Regions from separate parts of the Homo sapiens genome. Here region 1 is linked to region 2. The links are contacts of gene promoters, found by promoter capture Hi-C in blood cells and fetal thymus (Javierre and others, 2016). All regions are on one chromosome and are shown on one strand. Each heading gives the region's core, a stretch centred on a gene start or on the middle of the fragment in contact. The rest is flanking DNA. Distances are from core to core; before and after follow the strand shown.

The links. Contacts are between HindIII fragments. The CHiCAGO score rates a contact against its expected background, and 5 or more counts as called.
Region 1: a fragment that was not itself captured here is called in contact with the fragment with the promoter of ESRP2 in region 2 in 1 of 17 cell types (fetal thymus); the score reaches 6.4 in fetal thymus.

The regions. Positions count from the first base shown.
Region 1 is chr16:67,940,196-67,942,695 of GRCh38, forward strand. It overlaps LCAT (lecithin-cholesterol acyltransferase), which reads right to left. Exons shown (of 6, transcript NM_000229.2): 4 at 2,476-2,500; 5 at 2,168-2,392; 6 at 1-283. Among named protein-coding and RNA genes, the nearest start is that of LCAT, 2.7 kb to the right of the region's middle. RefSeq lists enhancers at 1-198, 1-36, 2,124-2,173, 2,157-2,500. The HindIII fragment of the contact is 4,708 bases long and covers 1-2,500 here.
Region 2 is chr16:68,232,600-68,237,709 of GRCh38, forward strand. It overlaps ESRP2 (epithelial splicing regulatory protein 2), which reads right to left and starts at 3,528. Exons shown (of 15, transcript NM_024939.3): 1 at 3,249-3,528; 2 at 3,035-3,163; 3 at 1,395-1,508; 4 at 1,169-1,283; 5 at 728-826; 6 at 162-216; 7 at 1-88. The coding sequence starts at 3,446. It overlaps MIR6773 (microRNA 6773), which reads right to left and starts at 900; the gene lies at 827-900. RefSeq lists silencers at 3,476-3,705, 5,016-5,105 and enhancers at 3,727-4,315, 4,316-4,903, 4,904-5,110. The HindIII fragment of the contact is 18,011 bases long and covers 1-5,110 here.

The DNA.
Region 1 (2,500 bases), core at 1-2,500, 290 kb before region 2:
GGCAGGCCCACGCCGTAAAGACAGTATACTTCCACACCAGGTGCTGGGAGTCCTGCCAGGAGGTCACGTGACTGCAGCCACATGTACCAGCCTTCCTCAAAGTGCAGGTCTGCAAAGAAGCGTTGGAAGTCACGGCCTGTGTAGTTGAAGCTGGGTGTGGAAATGAACACGTGGTCCTCAGGCCACGCCATGCGAGAGGGAAACATCCAGGGGGAGGTGGTGGTTATGCGCTGCTCCTCTTTCAGCTTGATGCTGGACATGATGGGGATGCCCTGGTTGTCACCTGTGGATATGGAGCAAGGTGGGACAGGGAGCCAGGCCTGGCTACCCCTGGCCCACAACCTGCTGAGTGTAGGCTCAGCCAGATGCTCAATCTTGTCCCTGCCCAATCTAGACACAGACTCTAAGCCACAGGCTTGAGCAGGCCTGATATTCAATGATGCTCAGTGTCAGCTTACTCAATGAGAAGCCCTGATAAGACCTCTGTTGGGTGGAGCTGTAGGGCTTCAAAAGGATGGCAGGGACAGGCACCATGGCTCACCCCTGTAATCCCAACACTTTGGGAGGCTGAGGCAGGAGGATCACTTGAGGCCAGGAGTCCGTGACCAGACTAGGCAATGCAGTGAGACCCTGTCTCTACAAAAAAAAAAAAAAAAAAAATCAGCTGGGCTTAGTGGAGTGCACCTCTAGTCCTAGCTACTCAGGAGGCAAAGGCAGGAAGATTGCTTGAGCCTAGGAATTTGAGGTTACAGTAAACTATGATCGCACCACTGCACTGTAGCCTGGGTGACACAGTGAGATTCCAGCTTAAAAAATAAATAAATAGGGCCGGGTACGGTGGCTCACACCTGTAATCCTAGCACTTTGGGAGGCCGAGGCAGGCAGATGACTTAAGGTCAGGAGTTCGAGACCAGCCTGGCCAACATGGGGAAACCTAATCTCTACTAAAAATATAAAAATTAGCCAGGCGTGGTGGCACATGCCTGTGATCCTAGCTACTAGGGAGGCTGAGGCAGAAGAATCACTTGAACTGGGGAGATGGAGGTTGCAGTGAGTGGAGATTGCACTACTGCACTCCAGCCTGGGAAACAGAGCGAGACTCCATCTCAAAATACATAAATAAACAAATAAACATTTTTTAAAAGGCCCAGCACAGTAGCTCACGCCTGTAATCCCAGCACTTCGGGAGGCTGAGGCAGGAAGATCACTTAAGGTGAAGAGTTTGAGACCAGCCTGGGCAACATAGCAAGACCTCATCTCTACTAAAAAACAAAAATAAATTAGGTGTGGTGTTGTGTGCCTATAGTCTCAGCTAACCAGGAGGCTGAGGCAGGAGGATTGCTTGGGCCAGGGAGATTGAGACTGCGGCTATGATCACGCCACTGCACTCCAGCCTGGGCGACAGAATGACCCTGTCTGAAAAAGAAAAAAAAAAGTAGGCGGGGCTTCCTGAGGACCAGGGTGTGTGGGGATGGTGGGTGAGGCCCAGGATGTGTGGGGATGGTGGGGGCGGTGCTGGCTGTCCTCCCTCGGGCATGTGTCTTTCTGCTCCTTGTGTGGCTTATGCAGCAATGGGGGCCACAGAGTTGTGCTCCAGAAAGGGGGAAACAAGATGGTGTCTGTTTGATGTTTATTGGTGGTGTCTGATGAGCGTTTCTCTTGTCCAGACTGTGTTTCTCTCTCCAGACCAGCTCCCAGGGTACAGGGGGTGGGGAGTAGGTGGTAGCTGTGTCAGTGCTGGGCCCTGGTGCCACTCCCTAGGGAAGAGCAGGTGGGGCCTCGGGGGGTCTGGCCCTAGCTCTGGCAGATCCATCCTCAGTGAAGCACATCCCTGGGCAAAGGCACTCCTGCGAGCAAGTGGAAGGCAGGCAAGGGCTGGGCAGGCAGGCTCTGGGGCTACAAGAACAAACCCTGGGAGCAGATAGCTGGGATTCACTTTCTGTGTTCACTGCCCCTTTGCCATCACTGACACAGACTCTGGAAGGAGCCACCCTAATTGCTCAGGCCAGGGTCACTGCTCTGGGGGCCAGTGACAGCAAGCATGCCAGCCCAGGAGTGGTAGATAGCACCCCTAGAGGCCACTGTGAGCAGGAGCCGCAATGAAGGCAGGCCCAGGATCAGCTTGGTCTCACCCATCGCTGGACCTAAGTGTTCGAGGCCTTCTCACCTGAGGCCAAGACCAGCATGGGCTTGATGGAGCCACCCCAGGGAGCCCCAAGAGAGATGAAGCCATCAATAAAGCGGTCCTTCCAGGCCTGGGGCTGGCGCAGCAGGAAATAGAGCAAGTGTAGACAGCCGAGGCTGTGGCCAATGAGGAAGACAGGCTTCCCATAGGCAGCGTGCATCTCCTCCACCAGCCCTGCGAGCTTGCGGTAGTACTCCTCCTGCTGGCCTGCAGCGGGTGGAAGGGGTCAGGGCAGCTGGGGTCTGGGGCACCTGCCCCACCCCAAGCCGGTCATCCGCAGAGACACTCACCGGGCTCCAGCCGCCAGTCATAGGG
Region 2 (5,110 bases), core at 2,278-4,777:
GAAGCGAGCCACGTCCTGGTCTGATGACTGCCACGGCAACCCACGAGCCCGTACCACAGTCTCACTGTCCACCACATCAGCCTTGCTGCTGTAGGGGCAGGGCACAGTGCTGTCAGAGCTATTCAGCTGTTGTCACCCCCAGCCCCTGCTCCCACACTCACCAAGGCCCCGTCTCGTATTTCTGCTTTATCACCTCGGGCTTCGAAAACAATTGACCTGAGAAAAGATGGCCTGGGGGTCAGCAGGGTCTGGTGGAGAGGGGTGTCCCCACCAAGTTCTGCAAAAAGTGGACAATTGAGAGAGATGAAGAAATGACAGGCCGAGCACAGTGGCTCACGCCTATAATCCCAGCACTTTGGGAGGCCAAGGTGGGTGGATCATTTGAGGTCAGGAGTTCCAGACCAGCCTGGCCAACATGGTGAAACCCCATCTCTACTAAAAATACAAAAATTAGGTGGGCATGGTGGCAGGCGCCTATAATCCCAGCTACTCTGGAGGCTTAGACAGGAGAATCGCTTGAACCCGGAAAGTGGAGGTTGCAGTGAGCTGAGATTGTGCCACTGCACTCTAGCCTAGGCTACAGAGGGAGACTGTCTCAAAAAAAAAAAAAAAAAAGAAATGACAAAGAGGATTCCCCCGTGGTCTCTTAGAGAAGGTCACAGTGGGGAGGAGCAATAGGCATTTGTCATCCCTGAGAACAGGTGACAGGCAGTGAGGGAAACCTTACTGCTGGGCTCTTTGAGTAGATGGAGGATAACAGCTACCATTGTCTTGACTTCCCAGACCCCAAAGTCATCCTCTGTGGCATCTGTCTCCAGTCCTAAACCTATGGGCAGAGAAGTGACAGTGAAGACATCTTAGCATAAGCACTAATCCTGTTTACTCCTGGGCCCAACTCCCCTCCATAGACACATGCTGGAGACCAGCATACACATTTGTTTTGGCCCAGTTCATGTGTGCACATACAGATTCCCAGTCCAGACATAGACAGACACATACCCACATTCCAAACTCATCCTAGCACAGACACGAAGACACAGTACACTCAGGGACTTAGCAGATAACGCAGTCTTGTATGTGTCCATATTACCCACCCACAGCATGCACATACTCAGACACATGTACCCACAGTGGCTTCTCCACCCTAACCCTGCTGGGTCACAGATACCCTGTGCCATGGTGGCCACAGTGAGGTCCCTGGCAGGGCAGGTGCTTGGATGCTGCATATGGAATTCTCTTCGGAGGTCATAGAAGGAGAAGAACATGTCGGGGAGCACCAGGTTCTGGGGGCACATAGGATTGAGGATGAGCGCCCTGCCCACCCTCAGGACAAGAGGGGTTCTGGGAACCTTACTGACCACCCCACCCCACCCGGTTTTCCTTCAGGAGCATACCTTCCTGGAGGCCTCGGGGTGCAGGACCTGTCGCAATAGCTGCTGCCCATCAGTGCAGAGCATGTAGGGGCCCCCGCCCAGCAAAGCCACATCCCCGTTCACCAGCTGTGAGAACTGGGGATAGGGAATGGGGAGAGAGAAACACACAGATTCACAGCTGGGCAGGCAGGAAGTGAGGGTAGGAGGAAGGAGGCAGGCTGCAAAGCTGGTTCAGCCAGATGTTCAGCCCTATCCTGCCTGGGAATAAGAGGCCACGCCTGTTGAGCCTAGCCCTATGTCCCTTCCCCTCACCCCCCAACCCTGTTCCAGTCCACTGTCACCTCCTCCAGGCCAAATGAGGGCAATCACATATAACCGAAGCCCTCAACACACACACTCCAGGAGTTTGGAGTGGGGCCAGAGCAAACACCTGGAGTGGGACAAGCAGGTGGGAAGGGGCGGGGCAAAGCAGGTTAAACCTGTCTTTGACCGGGTACCACCCTCAGACAGGTGGGGGAGGCCCAGGCCTGCCTGAGGCCCAGAAGGCTCATGGTCAATGGCAGCCCCGCCTCCAGGTCTGACCAACCGAGGGGCAGAGAAACTCCAAGGACAGAGCTCCACACTTGGACATCAGGGGCAGCATGAGCTTTGACCCACATCCTATTGACCGGCTGGCACTGAGCTGTTTGCTCATAGAGGGGGTGGCACTCCTGAGGCTGCCCAGCCCTCCCCCAGCCTCCATCCTTGCTGGAGAAGTATAAACACTAATCAGTGACCCACGAACCCTCCCTGCCAATTCTGTGACACTTTACAACTTGGGGCTGACAGAGCAAGGCAACCCAGCTCTCCTCCAGCAAACTCCCCAAGTGAAGGGCCGGGAGCCCTTCTGGAACAGACAAGGAATCATCATCGTGGTGCCTCCTCATCAGGAACCACAAGAGTTGTTGGAAGATGAAAGAACGTGAGTGTATAAAAAGGACTTACACTAATTACACTCAAGAGTCAGACATAGAATGAGCGCCGTAGTGAAGATAAGGAAAAGAAAACAGCAATGGAAACCACCTCCCACTTCAGCTAGGGCAGGAGGCACCCCAGGCCTTTGCACTCAGCAGGCAGATAGTCCCCCAGGCCAGGCCGGGACAGCGCCCACGCCTGGCCAGCCGGCCGGGACAGGCCTAGACGAGCAGTTTACACCTGGCGGCGTCTACCTCTAGGGCCGACACCGCCCTACGCCTCCGCTCCAGCAGCTCCCAAGCAGGCCGAAGACGCGGGCCGCAAGGACAGGTGACCTATATGGGCCCCTCGACCCCTTTCGCTTCCGGCTGCGGCTCAGGGAGACCTGACCCAGCAGGTCTCCCAAAGGCGTCTCGGCCTCGCTCCCCGGGCGGGAACTGGGGATGGATCCCAAAGCCTGCGTCCCGATCCCTTCGGTAGGAGTAGGTTCCTGCAATGGTTGAAAAGTAAGGAGCCCAGGGGAATGGCTGGCACGCGCGGATGAAAGGGGCACGCACACGCGAGAGTCGCTCAAAGTTTCAAACAAGAGCCCAGTCCTGCCGCCTGGACCGGTTGGTTGCGGCACGCCAGGCCTAGCCTCCGGCCGCCAATCCCGCCCAGAAATGTCCTCACGTCCAGGCCATGCCGCCACCCACCCCGGCGCTCACCTGCTGCAGCACCTTGTCCAGCGGCTCTGCCCGCGCCAGGCTGTCGGCGCTCAGGCCGCTCGCCTCGCGGCACTGCGTACTCAGTGCGGCCGCCTCGGCACGAACCAGCGATTTGTGCAGCGTCCCCACCTGTGAGCGGCGGGGGAAACCGATCAGCCGCGCCCCTCGACCCCGGAAGCTCCCTGGGGACCTCACCGCCTCTTTTCCACCCTACCTGGCGGCTCCGCGGCTCAACCACTTGCCAAACTAGGAGGATTAAGTCGGTCTCGTCCGAGCCCAGGTCCCGTCCCAGCGCACCCGCCGTAGCCCCGAAGAGGACGACCAGTGATCCGGGCCAGGGGCAGGGGTCCGCGGCGGGGTCGGCCGCGGGGTCAGGGCCCGGGGGAGGGGGCGGCGGCGGCGGCGGAGTCATGGCCGCAGAGGAAGGGGGCTCTCGGCCAGACACGCGGACCGACGAGGCGCACGCACGCACCGACCGACCGCAGACGCGGATCAGCTTGGGCGGGACACCGTGTATCGGGGGCGGCACCTGCGGCCCGGCTGGCTCAGTGGGCGCTGCCAAGACCCGCCCGTGGCGCCCCGCGGGGCGGGGCGGCTACCGGCCCACGCCCTCTCCAGGCGAGTTACCTGCCGGCCCCGCCGGCCACGTGACCGGGGCGGCTCCGGGAACCTTGGGGGAGGGCCGCCAGAACTCAACCCAGGACGCAAGAGCTCACGCTCCCGGCCTGGGCGCACGCTTAGGATCCGGATTCCTACTTCCAGGGCTGGTCCTGCCTGATTTTGGGGGCTAACCCATTCTTCCGCTCTCCCCCCACTCTTCCCCAGGGGTCGTCAGGCCTCTGCAAAGGAGCGTGCAAGACAGAGGCCTTCTCCAGTATGGAAGTCACCAGGAGGCAGTCTAGGGGCTGTGGGGGTCAACACGGCAGGTCTGGGGTTGATGGAAGTCAAAGGGTCAAGGGGGCGGTGAGAGTTGCCGGGTATCACCCTGTAGGGGGATCACCAGAAGTCACCTGGGAAAGGGGAGGGCGGCGGGAACATCAGCGTTGTTAGAGCTGTGGGGTGGTCACCAGGGATCACAGGGAAGGGCTTGTCCACGCAGATGCTAGGGCCGAGCGCTAGCCTGGCACTGAGAAGTGCCAGAGCGCGGTCGTTGTGGGTTGGGAGTGGGCAGGCCTCAATGCTGGGGAAAGGAACCCCCCAAATCGCAGAGAGCTGCACCCTAGACGAGGCTGAGAGGGGTAGAACGGGCCTGGAGCCTCACTCCTACCCCACGTGTGGGGGCCTGCCTGCTTTCGTCCCTTTCTGGACGGTGGAGAAGCTGCCTGGAGATTGCGAGCGCTCTGGCCGATGGGGGGCTAGCGTTGAGCGTGTGTGCGCGCATGCGGGCTGCAGATCCTCCCTTTTCCATCCCGCACCTACAACCCAATTGACAGCCCCGCATTTGGGGCTCCCATTCCTCCCTTTGCCCAGTGGAGCTTGGTGAGGCTCCTTTATGGCGCGTTTCCCGGCCGTTCCTTACTTTCCCAAACTCTCCCAGGGAGGTGACTGAGAAACTGAATAAGTGACTGAGAAACTGAATAATCCAGCAGGAAGGAGGGGGCTCCAGCGTGGCGGGAACTGAGTCACGCGGTTGCCTAGCCCGACTCGAGACTGAGACGGGAGCCGCACCACGCGCTTTCGGACAAGGAGGGTGCTGCGGCCCGGCCCCTGGACAATGGAGAGAGCGGGGCACCCGGGCGCATCACCAGAGCTCATGCCCGGGAAAGGGGCGAGGCCCGGGGGGAGAGAGCTCAGCGTAGCTCCACTTGGCAGCTAAAGAAACAGGCGCCCGGGACGGAAATGACTCGCGCCCGGACACGGCGACAGGGAGAGCATGGGAAGTGCTTCCTTCGCCCGGCGGGTTCGAGCGAGTAGCACTTTACTTTCCCTACAGGTGGAGGCGGGCCTTGGTGCGCGGCTGTCCATCTCCGGACCGCCCACCCGGGCACTGGCCCATGCGTCTCCTCCCCCGGAAGCGGTAAGCGAATCAGGCGCGGGGGAAGGGAGAACGTTGCTCCTCGGGCCCCTCCTCCCGAT